Linked DNA regions of Homo sapiens: region 1 is linked to region 2. The links are contacts of gene promoters, found by promoter capture Hi-C in blood cells and fetal thymus (Javierre and others, 2016). All regions are on one chromosome and are shown on one strand. Each heading gives the region's core, a stretch centred on a gene start or on the middle of the fragment in contact. The rest is flanking DNA. Distances are from core to core; before and after follow the strand shown. Region 1 has its middle 28 kb from the start of FAM184A. Region 2 holds the start of MCM9 (minichromosome maintenance 9 homologous recombination repair factor).

What was found. Contacts are between HindIII fragments. The CHiCAGO score rates a contact against its expected background, and 5 or more counts as called.
Region 1: a fragment that was not itself captured here is called in contact with the fragment with the promoter of MCM9 in region 2 in 1 of 17 cell types (activated CD4 T cells); the score reaches 5.5 in activated CD4 T cells.

The regions. Positions count from the first base shown.
Region 1 is chr6:119,104,619-119,108,316 of GRCh38, forward strand. It overlaps a transcript of FAM184A not described here. Among named protein-coding and RNA genes, the nearest start is that of FAM184A, 28 kb to the left of the region's middle. The HindIII fragment of the contact is 4,278 bases long and covers 1-3,698 here.
Region 2 is chr6:118,933,728-118,937,520 of GRCh38, forward strand. It overlaps MCM9 (minichromosome maintenance 9 homologous recombination repair factor), which reads right to left and starts at 1,432. Exons shown (of 14, transcript NM_017696.3): 1 at 1,164-1,432. LOC124901389 (a long non-coding RNA gene) reads left to right here and starts at 1,188. Exons shown (of 2, transcript XR_007059729.1): 1 at 1,188-1,263. RefSeq lists silencers at 681-930, 1,181-1,610. The HindIII fragment of the contact is 20,540 bases long and covers 1-3,793 here.

The sequences.
Region 1 (3,698 bases), core at 753-3,252, 170 kb after region 2:
ACTTACCAAGACTTTGATGATTACATTTTTTTAAATGGTGCATGCTTTCAAAATTATAAATTACATTTTATTTACATATAAAATTAAATGGCTCTTCACTCCTTAAGTGTGGACTGCAAATAGAGACTTCTTTCCAAAAAGCCCTATAAAACGCGCGAAAAACTGTAACTTTAGAGTGCAGAAAGCTACTACCCAATACTACCTCAACTAGGTGATCAAGGTCAACGTCAATAGTGATAAGTCATTTTGATAGCATGTGCCCTTGATCTGATGTGATGAAAATAGCAGTTGATTTCTGTGATCTTCACTATCAAAACCCCTAAGTCCAGTCTAATTATGAGAAAAACATAAGGTAAATTTCAGTAGAGGAACATTCTATAAAACACTGGCCAGTACTACTCAAAACTGTTGAGGCCATCAAAGCCAAGGAGAGCCTAAGAGATACGATGACTAAATGTAATATGGTATCCTATATGGGATCCTGGAACAGAAAAAGGATAGTAGGTAAAAATTTAGGAAAATGGGATAAAATGTGGACTTTAGTTAATAATAGTGTGTCATACTAATATAAAATGTTAACAACAGGGGAATCTGGGTGTGGAATATATAGGAACTTTCTGTACTATTGATATGGTTTGGCTCTGTGTCCTCACCCAAATTTCATCTTGAATTGTAATCCCCACGTGTTGGAGGAGGGGCCTGGTTGGAGGTGATTGAAACATGGGGGTGGATTTCCCCTCTGCTGTTCTCGGGATAGTGAGTGAGTTCTCCTGAGATCTGATGGTTTAAAAGTGTGTGGCATTTCCCCCCTCACTCGCTGTCTCTCCTGCTCCACCATGGTAAGACCTGCTTGCTTCCCCTTTGCCTTCCACCATGATTCAGTTTCCTGAGGCTTCCCAGTCATGTTTCCTATTAAGCCTGCAGAACTGTGAGTCAATTAAACCTCTTTTCTTCATAAATTACTCAGTCTCACGTGGTTCTTTACAGCAGTGTGAAAACGGACTAATACAACTACCCTCACAATTTTTCTGTAAATCTAAAATTGTTCTAAAAAAAGTTTATTTAAAGAATATATGGGCTGCAAACAGGTACCTTCAGTTTTGAGCTATGTCTCCCATTTTCCCAATAATTTTCATCTAATACAAAGCTGGTCTTGCCCTTTCAATAATAGAAATACATTTAGAAAACCATACGCATTGCAGAAATTTATTATAATCTGTACTTTGACAGCAAATATCAAGCACATTTATTGCCCAGATGCATAGTTAGTTGGCAAACATTAATTTTAATTAATTAAGTATGTATAACTAACGTGAAGATATCAGTCATGAACAGCTGAATCTCAGTAAATTACCAGCTCCATATTTAAACAAACCACATCACTGTTTAAGGTCACATAATTGTCTCAGATTTTTGGCATGCTTTTTAAAAATTGTCATTCGTGAATTGGATACTGCTAGGAAAAGAAATGCTATTAAAAAAACCAAACTGATGCCGGGCGCAGTGGCTCATGCCTGTAATCCCAGCATTTTGGGAGGCCGAGGCGGGCGGATCACAAGGTCAGGAGATCGAGACCATCCTGGCTAACACGGTGAAATCCCGTCTCTACTAAAAATACAAAAAATTAGCCGGGCGTGGTGGTGCGCGCCTGTAGCCCCAGCTACTCAGGAGGCTGAGACGGGAGAATGGCTTGAACCCAGGAAGGCGGAGCTTGCAGTGAGATGAGATTGTGCCACTGCACTCCAGGGTGGGCGACAGAGCGAGACTCCGTCTCAAAACAAACAAACAAACAAAAAACCAAACTGACATATTTAAAAAGAGAATGTATTAAATGATCATTTGTATGGCTATTACTCAGAGTGGGACCTTTCGTCTTCTCATCTGCTTTCACAGTCTTATGATTTTGAAAAGTAAGCCAACTACTGGCTATGCCATCAGGCTATTAGTTTAACTTTTATAACTAGAGGTCATATGAATTATTCAGAGTAAACTCAGTATAACTACTTAATTGGTTGGCTCTAACTTTAGTTTTGAAACTAATTAACTGGAAGGGCTTCGGTAAATTACTTAATCTTTTTGTGCCTCAGTTTTCTCATCTCTAAAAAGGACTAATTGTAATTATCTTATGTGGCACAAAGATGTTGTAACAAAGTAAAGTAATAAGGCATGAAAACTGTTTGGGAGGTAAGGTTTATTTCACACTACAAAAAGTTCTTTGTAAATACAGATATTCACTGAAAAAAATCTGGTAAGTTACGGTGAATGGGAAAGGTTCTGGAAGAAGACAGAGATTGGTAATTAGGAGTAACTTTTTCCAAAAATGAGAAAAAGCCATAAACATTTGTTGCACTAATTTATCCAAGTTACTCATTTCCTGAAATGTTTTTGTAGGCCATATATTACTTTCACAGCTCTCAAGGGAATATCAAAATTTGGGATAAATCTATTATCCTGAAATTGTAATATGGAATTGTTAGTGAGAAATACCACTTAATGTGTAGTAAACATTAAATGTATAAGCTGCATATGAAAATAGTTTCTACATGATTTCAGTCTGCCAAAGCCAATCATCTGTCTCATGGAAACTTATGTTCATACACCTTTCTTAGGTTGTCATGGGATTCTTAAGTTTTAAAATACTTATGTTTACTAATATTATCAATGTTATTCTGAAAAAAAAGACACTAGAAAAAATTATCTCTAAATATGATGGATTTACTCAGGAATAGAAGTAAAGATTATAATTTGGAGTGCATGGAATGGCAAGCTACCAGTGCATTTATTTGGTGAGGGAAGGGTAAGAGGAGCTTTTATTAGCAAAAAAGAGTCTTACATAAACTGCTTAGAAGCAGAGTTCATTCGGCTGGGCACAGTGGCTCATGCCTGCAATCCCAGCACTTTGGGAGGCCAAGGTGGGCGGATCACCTGAAGTCAGGAGTTCGAGACCAGCCTGGCCAATGTAGTGAAAATAATTTGTCTCTAATAAAAAACCTAAACAAAACAAAATAAATTAGCTGGGCATGGTGGCATGCACCTGTAATTCCAGCTACTCGGGAGGCTGAGGCAGGAGAATTGCTTGAACCTGGGAGGAGGAAGTTGCAGTGAACCGAGATCTCGCCACTGCACTCCAGCCTGGGTGACAGAGTGAGACTTTGTCTCAAAAAAAAAAAAAAAAAAGAAAGAAAAGAACAGAGTTCAGAGTTCATTGGTCCTCAAGTTTCAAAGCCAGAGTTATTGTCAGTTCATTGTTGGAGATGCTGTTGCTGGGCAAGTGTTCCTTGGAGAACTGCTCTTAGTATTCTAAAGAAATTTAAGACATATTTATTAGGTGACAACATTCTTTACAAATATGAACTGAATTGGAATAAAAGGTTAATCAGGTATTGTTCTATGCGTGACTAGGGTTCTCCAGAGAGCAGAATCAGGAATTCTGGTAGTGAGGTTAGAATCTGTGTTTTAATGAGCTCTTCACATAATTCCCAAATTTGAAAGTTTGAGAAGCACTTGTTAGTGTGTGTGTGTGTGTGTGTGTGGTGTGTAGGGTTCTTGTATGGTTGCCATGACATTCATTTTCTTCCTTGTTTGTAGTAAATATGAGTCACTCATCGAGACCTTTTGATGCCTTGATATATGATGGGCAAATTCCCCTTGACACTCTCACCGAATAATTTTTGTTGAATGAGATTGGAGCACCTGTC
Region 2 (3,793 bases), core at 182-2,681:
TATTCCGCAAGGTGTGAAACGTTTAAGAAGTACATATAGCAGTTAGGTCAAGAATCCTGACCACTATAGGAGGCCAGAGTGAGAGTAAGAATGAGTAAATGTATATCCAAAACAATGAGTGGAAATAAATTACGGCCTCCACGGTAATTTGTTTTTGGTTAAGCAATATAAATTCAGCCAAGTGTAAAGCAGAAAAAGCACTTGGGAAGGAATATCTCCACAATGTGGACTTTGCCCAAAAAAAAAAAAAAAAAAATCTGGACTCCCAACAGTGGCTACAAGAGAATCACTATGATTCTATTAAAGCATATTAAGTTTAGAGCCACAAATTTAGCAATTTGAAAAACAGCTCCACACAAGGCAGGAAAAGGGCAGCAGCAGAATTCAACGTTCAAATTAAGGTCAGATTAAATTTTGCCTAGTTAGGCTAGCATTTCTATGGTTATATGGACCATCGTTATTCATTCCCTTTCAACATCTATGCAAAACTGACTAATCAACTGTGTTATCAGCAGTTTGCTAAATCAATAAACGTACCTACTACCCACCCAGATAGACACTGGAGGGACTTTTTGTTTTGAGAAGGGTCATTTCACAACTTTCAAGTTCTCTTTCCTTTTCTTATTGAATATTTGGGGTCAAAATAAAATCATTTGCTTTACTTTGTCCTCTTGACCACAGCGAAGCGTCGAAAAGAAGACAGGAGAGTGCCTAACTGCACTGGCATCCCCCAGCTGTCTCCGGGAATCGCGGCAGCCCCGCCCCGCCCGCCTGCACCTGCCGGGAGCCCCGCCCCCTCCGCGCGGGCTGGCGGGACGCGCGCCCTCGGCCCCGCCCCACTCCCTCCGCCCCTCTCACTGCGGGGGCGCGCCATTTCGCGCCTCCGGGCCGCTCGGCTGCCCCAGGGGCGCCTGGCAAACGTGGAGTCGCTCGGTTTTGGAGGCATGCTTTCCAAACTTTCTAATTCACAGGGTCTTTGCACGCAGCCCCTGCCCCACAACACCTTGGCAGTCTCTGAGACTTCTGGGGCTCTTCTCCCGGGCAGCTCCCGTGCCTGTCCGGTCCCGGAGTTGAATAGTTTTTGAAGTAATGAGACGGGAACGAGACTTGGGACGAACTGGAGAAAAACATAACCGCGAAAGGAGGAGGCGGCTATCACTTACTGGCTGTGTCAGAAGTCGCCGGGAACGCGTTGCTCCCGAGGCCGAAGGGCCCAGAGAGCTCCAGCCAGGCAGCGGGTTCGTCTCCGGCGCAAGAAGGCTGGTGAGGCGGAGTGCGCGCGTGCACGTGGCCGCTCGAGGCGCCACCGGCCGCGGGGACGCGCGGGCTGTGTCGGGCGGCCTAGCGCCTGCGGCTCTGCCGGGCCTGCGCTCTCGACCGACGCCGGGCCGCGCACCGCCTCAACTTCCCTGCCCCGGCGGCTCTTCCGGATGGAGACGAGGCAGCGGGGCGGGGTGGAGCGGAGCGGGCGGATTGGGGCGGAGCCAGGAGGGTCCCGGGCGGGGAGAGGGGCGGGACCCGAGCAGTGACCTCAGGCTAAGTGGCCAGAGCAGGGTTGTGCGGCGGCTCAGATCGGATCTTAGGGTTTGTTTTTTGTCTGTCCAAGGAATTTGCCTAACCCAAGGCCACAGAGGATCTCTTCTGTGTTTTCTGACACAAGTTTTAGAATTTTAGGTTTTATATTGAGGTCTGTGATCCAATTAGAGCTAATTTTTGTCTGTGGTGCAAAGTATGGATCTTAGGTCATTTTTTTGTATGTGAATAGTGTCATTTGTTTAGAGAGCTTTCTTTTTCTCACTGAATAGCTTTTGCACCTATGTTTAAAATCAGTTGTCCCTAAAGCATCAGTTGTGGGTCTATTCTTAGACTTTCTATTCTGTTCCGACAATTTATTATATTTCTCTCTACAAAAATACCACATTGTCTTGATTCCTGTAGATTCGTAAGAGTCTTAAAATCAGATCGTGTTTGGCCTCCAATTTTTTGTTATTTTTCAAAAATGTTCTGGCTCATCTAGTCCCTTGGGTTTTCATATGAATGTTAAAATCAGCTTGTCACTTTAAAAAGTTGGGATTGTGATTGGTTACATTTCGTCTATAGATCCATGTAAGAATAATTTACATGTTAACAATATTTAGTAATGACCCTTAAAGTAAGCCTCTTCATTTATTTAGGTGTTATTTCACTCAGCAAATGTTTTGATCTTTTGTCAGGTCTAGTCTTATATAGTCCATTTTCACAGTGCTAATAAAGACATACCTGGGACTGAGTAATTTATAAAGGAAAGACGTTTAATTGACTTACAGTTCAGCATGGCTGGGGAGACTTCAGGAAACTTAAAATCATGGCAGAAGCGGGAGCAAACCTCCTTCTTCACAGGGCTGCAGGAAGGAGAAGTGAGGAGCAAGGAGGGAAAAGCCCCTTAGAAAACCATCAGATCTTGTGATACCTCACTCACTATCAGAGAACAGCATGGGAATAACCACCCCCATGATTCAGTTACCTCCCACCGGGTCCCTCCCACAACACCTGGGGATTATGGTAACTACAGTTCAAGATGAGGTTTGGGCAGGGACACAGCCAAACCATATCACCCTATGTCAGATTTATCCATAAATCTAAGGATGGGGGAAAAATATACTTCTTGATATTATGTAAATGACATTTTAAATTTTCAGTTGTTCTTTGATAGTGTCTTAGTCTGTGTTGCTAAAAAGGAATGCCTGAGACTGAATAATTTACAAATAAAAGAGGTTTATTTGGCTCACACTTCTGCAGGCTGCTTCTGGTGAGGGCTTCAGGCTGCTTCCACTCAGTGAAGGGGAGGCTGCCTGTGCAGATCACATGGCCAGAAGAGAAGCAAGAGAAAGGGGAGGTAGTGGTCAGGCTCTTTTTAACAATCAGCTCTGGAGGCAACTAACAGAATGAGAACTCATTATGCAATGGCAGCACTAAGTTTTCCTGAAGGATCTGCCCCTGTGACCCAGACACCCCCAACTAGGCCCCACACTTGGGATCAGATTTTAAGATGAGATTTGGAAGGGAGAAATACTCAAACTATGTCAGATAGTGTGTAAAAATATGATTGGGGGTTTTGTTGTTGTTGTTACAGGTTCTTGCTCTGTTGCTCAGGCTGGAGTGCAGTGGTGTGATCATGGCCCACTGCAACCTCTGTCTGCCAGGTTCAAGCAATCCTCCTACCTCAGCCCCCTAAGTAGCTGGGTGATATGGTTTGGCTGTGTGTCCCCACCCAAATCTCACCTTAAATTGTAATCCCCAGGAGTCTGGTGGGAGGTGATTGAATCATGGGGCGAACTTCCCCCTTGCTCTTCTCATGATAGTGAGTTCTCATGAGATCAGGTTTTTTGAAAGTGTCTGGCACTTCCCCCTCACTCATTCTCTCTCTCTGGCAGTTCCCCCTCACTCATTCTCCCTCTCTCTCCCGCTCTGCTATGGTAAGACGTGCTTGCTTCCCCTTTGCCATCTGCCATGAATATAAGTTTCCCGAGGCCTCCTAGTCATGCTTTCTATTAAGCCTGCAGAACTGTGAGTCAATTAAACCTCTTTTTGTCATAAATTGCCCAGTCTCAGGTAGTTTTTTATAGCAGTGTGAAAACAGACTAATACATTGGAATTATAGGTCTGTGCCACCACACCTGGCTAATATTTTGGTATTTTTTTGTAGAGATAGGGTCTCACTATGTTGCCCAGGCTGGTATAATTGAATTTTTAACATTAATCTTGTATTTGCAATTTTGTAAAAACCACTTATGAGTTCTAACAGCTTTTCTTG